2 separate regions of the Homo sapiens genome follow, and region 2 is linked to region 1. Evidence: promoter capture Hi-C in human tissues and cell types (Jung and others, 2019). All regions are on one chromosome and are shown on one strand. Each heading gives the region's core, a stretch centred on a gene start or on the middle of the fragment in contact. The rest is flanking DNA. Distances are from core to core; before and after follow the strand shown.

The links. Contacts are between HindIII fragments. The study calls those that stand out against the background at their distance.
Region 2: a contact is called between a fragment that was not itself captured here and the fragment with the promoter of CHST6 in region 1, in 3 of the 25 tissues and cell types used here (H1 embryonic stem cells, aorta and heart right ventricle).

The regions. Positions count from the first base shown.
Region 1 is chr16:75,493,402-75,498,900 of GRCh38, forward strand. CHST6 (carbohydrate sulfotransferase 6) reads right to left here and starts at 2,040. Exons shown (of 3, transcript NM_021615.5): 1 at 1,539-2,040. RefSeq lists an enhancer at 1,434-1,613 and a silencer at 1,914-2,243. The HindIII fragment of the contact is 2,567 bases long and covers 1,148-3,714 here.
Region 2 is chr16:75,614,536-75,619,996 of GRCh38, forward strand. ADAT1 (adenosine deaminase tRNA specific 1) reads right to left here. Exons shown (of 10, transcript NM_001324445.2): 4 at 4,051-4,105; 5 at 2,607-2,737. Among named protein-coding and RNA genes, the nearest start is that of ADAT1, 6.0 kb to the right of the region's middle. The HindIII fragment of the contact is 7,833 bases long and covers 1-5,461 here.

The DNA.
Region 1 (5,499 bases), core at 790-3,289:
AGGAATTTGAGGCAGGAGAATCGCTTGAACCTGGGATGCGGAGAGGTTGCAGTGAGCCGAGATTATGTCACTTTCACTGCACTCCAGCCTCGGTGACAGAGCGAGACTCCGTATCAAAAAAAAAAAAAAAAATCTGTAAAGTGGGGGAAACAATATAACCCAACTCATGGGCTTGATTGAAAGAGTGAGTGAGTGGATATTTGTAAAGCAGAACAAAGTCTGGCGCATAGTGCACTTATGAGTATTTGCTTAGCAATCTTCCTTCCTGGGCCACACTTATATTCTATGAATCCAAGGGAAAGTCTTTGAATGAGGAAAACCCAAGGACAATGGCTCTACCAGATTCAGGTGCCCCAGTGCCCCAGCAACAGAATGTGGCAGGCACAGACAGGGTCCCCACAAGGGCAAACAAAACAGAAGACGCTGGAAAGTCATGGCTAGAGGCCTGGCTTGTGTTTTTTCTGAGATGGAGTCTCGCTGTTGTCCAGACTGGAGTGAAGTACCGCAATCTCAGCTCACTGCAACCTCCGCCTCCTGGGTTCAAGTGATTCTTCTGCCTCAGCCTCCCAAGTAGCTGGGATTACAGGCACTCACCACCATGCCCAGCTTATTTTTGTATTTTTAGTAGAGATGGGGTTTCACCATGTTGGCCAGGCTGGTCTTGAACTCCTGACCTCAGGTGATCCACCTGCCTCGGCCTCCCAAAGTGCTGGGATTACAGGCGTGAACCACTGCGACTGGCCTTAGAAGCTTGGCTTCTGAAGCCGGATTGGGTTCAAATCCTGTCTCTACTACCAGTGAGGGGTGTGACTTAGAGCAAGTCACTCTCTGGCTCTCTATACTCCAGTTGACTCTGTTTGTAGAACAAAGCCAGAAAAGTTCCGGCCTCTCAGGCTGGAGAGGAGCCCAGCCCCAGCTCCCGGAGCAGCATAGCACCCTCAGAGGCCCTGGTACTTGGCCTACTCGCTTGTGGGTTTAAGTCAGCCAACTCCTTTCTGCTCTTCAGGCCTCAGTTTTCCCATCCTCAAAAATGGGAAACTTGACTGCCTTGCCTCTGTGAAAAAGGGAGGAGAAAGGAAAGTCAACATTTGCTAGGCACCTGTCCTGAGGCCCAGAGGGCCTGTCCTGAAGCCCAAGATGAAGCCGTCAGAAGCAGTGACGCAGGACTCCAATTCCCCTGGGTCTGGTTCCAAATCAACCCGCCAAGCTACCGTCTCTCAATAATTCTATGGAAAAAGCCCTTGGAGAGCTTTTGAAAGTCATGTCCTTTGAAACTCAAGTATCGAGACAAAAGGGGTTCTCCCCTCGCAGTGAGGATTCTCCTGCGCAGCCGAAGCCCCAGCAAGACACTTCCAAACCGGCGCCAACAGCGGCGATGCCCTTTCCACGTTGCTGATGGAAAAGCCACTCCCAGCTCTTCCCGCCACCCCAGGTCCCCGGTGCAGGACAGAGGAGCGTCCCCAGCTGTGCCACCAGCCCGGCCCCCAGCCGACCCGAGTGTGGGGACATCCCCCGCGGAGAATGAAGAACCAACGTACCCCAAAGCTTGGCGGCTCTGCCCGAGCTGCAGCGGCACGGTGGGGGACGCCTCTCTCCCTGGACTCAGCAAAGGCTCCCAAACGTCGTCTCTTCCAAATTCCACCGCACAGCCAGCTCTTTCTCTTCACTGGGAGGGTCCGCAGGGGCTGACTTGCTCCTTAAGGTCCCAAGACTATTAAGCGACACCCGGTGAGGCCGGGAAAGGGGCTCTAAGAGGCATGGACGAGAGTTGGCGGTGACCAAGCCACTGGAAGCTCCTGGAGACTCGAGGTAGAACGAATGTGGGAACAGGGCAGGAGTCCCAGAATGGGATGTTGAGGCTGGGGGTGTCCTGGGGCTACCACAGGGAAGGACCCGGCGCAGAGCTCCCTCTGGAACCCGGCACTGCGGCCCGCGCCCTCTACTCCCCGCGCGCCGGCCGGCAACCCTCGGCGCTGCCCGGTGCAGCCCGCCCGAGCGCACACAATGAGGCGCTTTCAGACGTGGCTGCGGTCCCGAGGTGGCCAGCGGGAGCTAGCGCCGTGGGGGAAGGAAGGAGCCGGTTGGCCCACCCCCGACCGAGGGGCCACGCCTCGGGGGAGGGGCGCCGGCCGAGGGCGGGGCAGGAGGGCCCAGGTGGGCTGGGGCTCTGAGAGGCTCAACTTTTAGCCCAGAATGTCAAAGGGCGCTGGCAGAGTCACCTCTCATCTGACTACAGAGGAACGTTGTACCCCACCCCACCCCAAATCCCCAGAGAAGGGGGGCTCCTGGGAGGACAAAGGCCCTAGTGAAGGAAGTCGAATCTTAATCTTGACCCTCCTCACTCTCGGGGGCATCCTTGCGGCGAGGTGACTTGGAATCCAAACCCTTCCCAAGGCCACGGCACCTGGATGACACATGGACCCGGTGCAGTGTCCCAACTGGGAAGAGCGGAGAGACCAGGTGGCCTTAGGAGCTGGGTCCGCAGCTTTTCCCCTCCTCCTGCGCATTCCCTGCCCTAGCCTAGGCCCAGAGGCGCAGGTTCATAGCAGGTCCAGATAAAGACATGATACGTTTCAATAAATAAGATATTTCCGGCCAGGGCTGGGCGCGGTGGCTCACGCCTGTAATCCCAGCACTTTGGGAGGCCGAGGCGGGCGGATCACGAGGTCAGGAGATCGAAATCATCCTGGCTAACACAGTGAAACCCCGTCTCTACTAAAAATACAAAAAAATTAGCCAGGCCTGGTGGCGGGCACCTGTAGTCCCAGCTACTCGGGAGGCTGAGGCAGGAGAATGGCGTGAACCCGGGAGGCGGAGCTTGCAGTGAGCCGAGATCGCACCACTGCACTCCAGCCTGGGCGACAAAGCGAGACTCCCTCGCAAAAAAAAAAAAAAAAAATCCGGCCAGGCGCGGTGTCTCACGCCTGTAATCCCAGCACTTTGGGGGGCCGTAGTGGGTGGATCACGAGGTCAGGAGTTCGAGACCAGCCTGGCCAACAGGGTGAAACCCCGTCTCTACTAAAAATACAAAAATTAGCCGGGCGTGGTGGCAGGCACCTGTAATCCTAGCTACTCAGGAGGCTAAGGCAGGAGAACTGCTTGAGCCCAGGAAGCGGAGGTTGCAGTGAGCTGAGATTGCACCACTGCACTCCAGCCTGGGCGACAGAGCGAAACTGTTTCAAAAAAAAAAAAAAAAAAAATCCCCTTTACAAATAACAGGGCAGAGCCCAGGCACCTGAAAAGGATGAAGCATTTCTAGGTCTTGTCAAATTAGTGATGGGATCTTAATCAAGAACTCCCTGCTGCTGGGAGAAGAAATAAGCAGTCCTTCCTGGTTGTGGTTTGGCAAGATGAATTAAGATTCTTGACAATGGTCGTAAGCTTTTCGGATTGGTAATTCCTTTCTAGGAGCTATCTTAAGGAAATAAACCAGAAACAAGGATTTATGTACAGGGTTCATATAAGTGTTGTTCATGATTTTGATACTGATTTTTTTTTCAGATGGAGTCTCACTTTTGTAGCCCAGGCTGGAGTGCAATGGCAGGATCTAGGCTCACTGCAACCTCCGCCTCTCGAGTTCAAGTGATTCTCTTGCCTCAGCCTCCTGAATAGCTGGGATTACAGGTGCCCACCACCACGCCAGGCTAATTTTTGTACTTTTAGTAGAGACAGGGTTTCACCATGTTGTCCAGGCTGGTCTCGAACTCCTGAGCTCAGATGTGATCTGCCCGCCTCTGTCTCCCAAAGTGCTCGGATTACAGGCATGAGCCACCGTGCCCGGCCTGTTCATGATTTTTAAAAAGTTAGAAATAGTGTATGGGATAGAAAGATGTGTGCCAGAAGGCCAACCATAACTCTGGGTAGGGGATTGGCCGGCAATCATTATTTTCCTTAGGATCATGTAATTTACATTTCCTTAATCAGTATTTAGAAGTTATCTGGCCAGAAAGCTCCAAAACCTCTTTACAAAGCATGAATAAGGAGAGGGGGCAAGGATGTGGAGGATAAGGTAAGAGGGACGCAAAGAGAGAGAATTGCTTTAATAAGCTTCAAGATGGGCACTCAGTGGGGCATTAGACACCTCACCTGCTTTGGCAGAAACTGGACTAATCATTTGGAAGAATTAGAGATTTCTCTCCCACAAAACAAATTCAATAATTATCTCAAATATGACTTATCTATGGCTTCAGCTCAGTTGATAAAATCCTGTGTATTTCTTACCTTTCTTCCTCCTGCAACTATGCTGTGTGGTTCAGTTTCAGAAACTACCAATAAATGATCCGTAAATAATTTGATATTCACCAGACACAGTTGTAATTTTCCAACCCGCAGCTCCCATATGCCATGTGGATTCCACTAAAAACTAATATACTTGGGGTTGGACCAGGAAACTTTTGCCAAAGAGCTAACAAAAGCTCCAAGGTCTTTGGGCAGAGCCGTGGCAAAGCAAGGCTACTGGTGAGTAACTCGGAGAAGTGTGCTCAACTTCAGCCCTCCCTATTCTTCCTCCCTCCAAAGCCTTGCTTCAAAAATAGCTAATACAACCTTCCATGTTGAACATTTTAATTAGAAAGCTACAGAACATAATGGATTCTTTATACAAGTTTTGCATTCAAATAATTTAATAAAATGCAAACCAAAGTTTATACGTATCTTTAGCCATCTTCCCATGTTTCATTAAATTCTGGGGATTTAAACCACAAGCAATTTTTCATTTCAGTCTCAAGAGACGGGGCACACTGGCCCATGCCTATATTCCTGGCACTTTGTGGGGCTGAGACAGGAGGATTTCCTGAGGTTGGGAGTTCAAGACCAGCCTGGGCAACATAGTGAAAACCCCATCTATAAAAATAAATAAATCTCAAGAAAAAAATTTAGGCATCTAAAATAGCCAGAATATTAAAAAAAGACAAGGGGGACAGTGTTAGAGAATTCCTCTGCTTGAATACTTCAAAATAGCTTTGTTTCCAAAACTGTTTTTAGTCAGCCTAAAGGAAACGGATGCTGGAGATGAAAAATGATCTCCAAGGTAAACTGAGGCACACACTGAGGGGTGTGTTTCTGGGTGGGCATGAAGCATGGATCACCGGAGCCATGTCCTTCCAGGGGCAACGACCTGCTTGGGATCAGGAAGCAGCTCCATGTGTTCTTGGAGGAGACTGCACGCATCCTCAGGAGGTGAATCGGCTGAACAAGCCATCTTCCGTGTGCAGAGGCCCCTTCCAGCCATCTCTGCTCCTGCAGACACTTGCTTAGCCACGAGGATAATCCACTGGACTGCTTGGTATTCTGCTAGTGGCCAGGCTGGACTGGCCTGCCCAGGCCAGCATCCTCTTTACACCCTCACTGCTTCTTGTGTCCTTCCCAAAGCTGCCCGCCCCACTCTGATGGGCACCCTTTTCCTTAGTCAAGGGAAACGCCAGCCGCTGGGCTTCCCGCTAGCCTTCCAAATAAACTTGTGGTTGTCAGGCAGCGGGAGCCAATCCCAACACCAACCCC
Region 2 (5,461 bases), core at 1,026-3,525, 120 kb after region 1:
GAAGTGGGAATACATCTGGAGAGGTTGGCTGGCTGACTTCCAGAGACCTCACAAGGTCACAGTGACTTTGGAGAACTCACCAGGGTCCATCTCCCACTCTGCAGGCTTGGAAATTGGATCTTGACAGAATGCCTGAATGCAAGAGCCTGACTCATGCTAATAAAACTCATAAGAGCCTGAAGTAGCTAACCCAGCCAACAAATTATTAATTACTCATAGGATGTAAATACCAAGGGAGCCAGAGAGGCACATTCTCTAGGTAATGTTCTCTCTCTCTGCAGACAAACCATGGGAGGACATCACATTTTAAAAGATTACCAGCAAAATTTCCTGAAGATTTTTAAGATGAACAGAGGGTTGCCAACTTTTTATTCCATCAAGGAAGATCTTTAAAAATCTCAATTACCGGCCAGGCGCAGTGGTTCATGCCTGTAATCTCAGCACTTTGGGAGGCCGAGGTGGGCGAATCACTTGAGGTCAGGAGTTCGAGACCAGCCTGGCCAATGTGGTGAAACCCTGTTTCTACTAAAAATACAAAAAAATTAGCCGGGCGTGGTGGCGCATGCCTATATTCCCACCTACTTGGGAGGCCAAGGCAGGAGAATCGCCTGGACCCGGGAGGTGGAGATTGCAATGAGCCGAGATCGAGAAAAAAAAAAAAAATTCAATCGCCATCACTTAAAAAAAAACTCTCATTTCCTTTAAAGTGAAAGAAATTAGTTTTGCAAAATTCACTACATAGTCTTGAGCTTTCTTGGTTTTTTTCAGGGACTGTTCTCACAGATCAGTACCTGTTTGTTGACCACTGACTTAAGGAGTTTGATAAGGGCATAATCAAACTACATAAGTGTCCAGTATTTTGGCTTCCCTGGGCCACATTGGAAGAATAAAAATTGTCTTGGGCCACACACAAAATACACGAACGCAAACGATAGTTGATGAGCTAAAAAAAAAAAAAAAAAAAAAAAAAAAAAAAAAAAATCGCAAGAAAAATCTCATAATGTTTTAAGAAAGTTTAAGAATTTGTCTTGGGCCACATTCAAAGCTGTCCTGGGCTGCATGTAGCCAGGCAGGCCGTGGGTTAGACAAGTTTGGATTAGGCCATCAGGCTGTGATCCTCAGATGCTTCTTTCTCCACAATAAGGCTATAGCTGTCACTGGGATCACCCCGGTCCTAGCTACTCAATGTGTGGTCTATGGACCCACACTGCTGGCATGCCTTGGGAGTTGGCTAGAAATGCAGAACCTCAGGCCCCACTCCAGACCTAATGAATCTCAATCTGCATGTTCTTCAGGAGATTCATGTGCATATTACAGCTTGAGAGGAGCTGATTAGGAAACAACCTTTGGGCCTTGGACTAGGGCCCTTACGGCTAAGAAAAGAGCAAGGATGAGTGCTGCCTACCTGTCATTTTTCTGGGCTTTGACTCTTAAAACTCTTTTCTCATACTCTTTCTTTCTTCTCTCTCTTTTTTTTTTTTTCCCTTCTTTTTGACTGAGTCTTGCCGGGTCATCCAGGCTGGAGTGCAACGGCGCAATCTCGGCTCACTGCAACTTCTGCCTCCCGGGTTCAAATGATTCTCCTGCCTCAGCCTCCCGAGTAGCTGGGATTACAGGCATGCACCACCATGCCCAGCTAATTTTGTATATTTAGTAGAAATGGGGTTTCTCCATGTTGGTCAGGCTGGTCTGGAACTCTCGACCTCAAGTGATCTGCCCGCCTCGGACTCCCAAAGTCCTGGCATTACAGGTGTGAGCCACCGTGCCTGGCCTCATTCTTTCTTAAGCTGTATCTATATTTTCAATTTGAGTTATGATCAAATCTACACAGCTATTCTATTTCTTCATAGTGATTTCTTATCTCTGCTCTAATTGCATGTGTTAGCTTTAAAGCTTAAAAGTTTTAAGGTTTAATCTTATATCCTTATTTCAAAGGTTTTAGGGTGAGAAAATTTTGCTGCCATCCTGAGTTGTTATCCACAAAAGGTAGAAGTTATTTTCAATTTTTAAGAAAGAAAAACAAAAGACGGAAATGACACCCCCTTCACCCCAGGCTAGGTCTTCCTGTCTTATGCAACCATAGCACCTGAACATACCCTTATAACCCACCAAAATTTACCCTAACTAACCATGACTGTCTACATTTCCTAAAAGACTATGAAGGTAAGCAATATGCTAGTCTTATTCATTTCTGTATACTCAGTATGTCATATCGTGCCTGACAAATAGTAGAAAGTATTTGTTCAATGACTAAATGAACGAAATGAGTTTTAGGATAAGTCACTATAGGATTTCCAAGCCCCATGTTGGCTTCACATCTTGTGAGGTTTCAGCCTTACGCTCCTAATCCTGATTCTGAGAATTGACTAATAGTATGAGTGAGACTCTGCACCCCTTGCCTCTGTCTTCTCTTTAGATGAAACCTTTAGAAGTGATTAGGTACACTAGCCTGTCATAAAAAGGCACTGTCACTACTTGTGGCTACTTGTGACTACCTGTGGCTACTTCAGCCATTAGTGCTTTTTAGGAAAAAACCTACCTATGGATAACACAAACATAAGGAAGTAGTTCATGTAACATTAATCCAAAGGCTTGAATATACTTACAGGGTGTATGGCTGGAGAAAAACACAAAAATGAGGTCTCGTCTAAGTTTCCACACTCCTTTTTGAGTTCCTGGGACAAAGATGCTATCCTCTTTCAGGGTGGCTGCCAACTGGAGTTGGTGGAGAAGGTACCTAAGGGTTGCAAGATGTTATTAGGATGAACAACCGATCTCTGTGGTAAGGGGAAAGCCTCTGGTTGGGTGATTACTAAGACAGCTTACTGTAGACTAATGGGACTGGTAGTGATGGGGAATTATGAGAATGCTCTAGACCAGTGATTCTCAAAGTGTGGTCCCTGTACCAGCAGCATCAGCATCACCTGGGAATTTGTTAGACCTCCAATTTCAACTGGCCTCGGTGGCTCATATCTGTAACCCCAGCTACTTGGGAGACTGAGGCAGGAAGACTGCTTAAGCCCAGGAGTTTGAGGCTGTAGTGAGCTATGATTCTGCCACTGTACTTCAGCTTGGGTGACAGAGTGAGACTCTATTTTTGTTTCTTTTTTTTTTTTTAGAAAAATAAAAAAGAAAGAAGAAACCCAATTTCTGAGGTTCCACCCTAGATATGCTGAATCAGAATCTCTGTGGTGGGCTCAGCAATCTGGGTTTTAACAAGCCTTCTAGGTTCTTCTGATGTACAATCAAGTTTGAGTACCACTAGTCCAGGCCAGGATTGTGACTCATGCCTGTAAATCCGGCACTTTAGGAGGCTGAGGCAGGAGGATCGCTTGAGCCCCAGGAATCCAACACCAGCCTGGGTAGCATAGTGACACCCTGTCTTTAAAAAAAAAAAAAAACCCAGGAAAAGTTAGCTGGGTGTGGTGGCATGCGCCTGTAACCCCAGCTATTCAGGAGGCTGAGGTGGGAGGCTTGCTTGAGTCCCAGGAGGCCAAGGCTGCAATGAGCTGAGATCACATCACTGCACTCTAGCCTAGGTAACAGAGCAAGACCCTGTGTCCAAAAAAAAAAAAAAAAAAAAAAAAAAGAGAGAACCACTAGTCTAGACCACATTACTACTCAAAAGTGTAGTTTACAGACTAATATCATCTGTATTACCTAGGAGCTTATTAGAAATGTAAATTCTGGGTGAGGCGCGGTGGCTCACACCTGTAATCCCAGCACTTTGAGAGACTGAGGCGTGTGGATAATGAGGTCAGGAGTTTAAAACCAGCCTGGCCAGCATGGTGAAACCCCATCTCTACTAAAAACACAAAAAATTAGTTGAGCATGGTGGCACGGGCCTGTAGTCTCAGCTACTTGGGAGGCTGAGGCAGGAGAATTGCTTGAACCCAGCAGGCGGAGGTTGCAGTGAGCTGAGATCATGCCACTGCACTCCAGCCTGGGCAACAGAGCAAGACTCTGTCCCCCCCAAAAAAAAAAAAAAAAGTAAATTCCGGGACTCCCACCCCAGTCCTGCTGAACCATACTCTGGAGATGTGGCTTTACCTTTGGAAACTCCTTCTGGCTATGACCTCAGCATGGCTATCATTGAGGATGTCTCCTGCGGCAAAGATAGGACACCAGGTGAAGACATATGGAAGCTGGAGAGGGTCTGGTTCCTAGAAGCAGAACACAGCAGTCCCACCAGCACCCAGGATGGTCATGTAGCTCCTGGAGAGCTTTGCCAGAAGGTACCACAATCATGAATAACAATGCATCAGGTGCAGGGTTTCTCAACCCAGCACTGTAGACATTTTGGGCCAGAAAATTTTTTGTTGTGGGGGATCTATTCCATCCATACACTGTAGACTGTTTATTAGTAGTATTCCTGGCCTCTACCCATGAGATGACACTAGCACCCCTCCCTCAGTTGTGACAACTAAAAATGTCTCTAGACATTGCGAAATGTCCTCTGGGATGCAAATCACCCCCAGGTGAGAAACATTAATTTATAGAAAAACCTCATTCGGAGAACAAAGGTCTAGATCTTTTGTACAGAAGTATCCTACTTGTGCTCATGGTGGTACAATTCCATCTAATCCAATCCACAGTGATCCTGGAACAGGTTCCTCATATACAGGAGGTTAAGGCAAGGAGAATGGTAGAAGCCAACTCAAAGAGGAACCTGCTAGCTAGAAGAGGTAAAGACCCCAGATCTCGGCCAGGGACGCAATAGCTCATGCCTGTAATCCCAGCACTTTGGGAGGCCAAGGCAGGAGGATAGCTTGAGGCTGGGAGTTTGAGACCAGCCTGGCTAACACAGTGAGACCAAATCTCTACAAAATAAAAATGAAAAAAATTAGCTGCACATAGGTGTGCATAGCTGTGCACACCTATAGTCCAGCTACTCAGGAAGCTGAAGTGGGAGGATCACTTGAGCCCAGGAGTTCAAGGCTGCAGTGAGCTATGATAGTACCACCGTACTTCAGTGAGACCCTGTCTCTTAAAAAAAAAAAAACCACTGAAACAGACAAATAAAAACCCCCAGATCTCTAAGGAATTTTCATATTCTTGTTGAGGCCCAAAGCTTCCTGTCATTCAAGATTGCTTACCAGGTGCGGTGGCTCACACCTTTAATCCCAGCACTTTGGGAGGCCAATGTGGGCAGATCACCTGAGGTCAGGAGTTCAAGACTAGCTTGGCCAGCATGGTGAAACCCCGTCTCTAAAAAAATACAAAAATTAGCTGGGCGTGATGGTGGGTGCCTGCTGAGGCAGGAGAATCGCTTAAACCCAGGAAGGGGAGGTTGCAGAGCAGTGAATCGAGATTGCCCCATTGCACTCCAGCCTGGGTGACAGAGCGAGACTCCGAGTCAAAAAAAAAAAAAAAAAAAAAGATTGCTTTCTTGGGCTTCAGAAGCCACTCAAGCTGCATCCTCTACCTGCTATAGAGTCCCAAAGCCTTCCAGACCTAATGT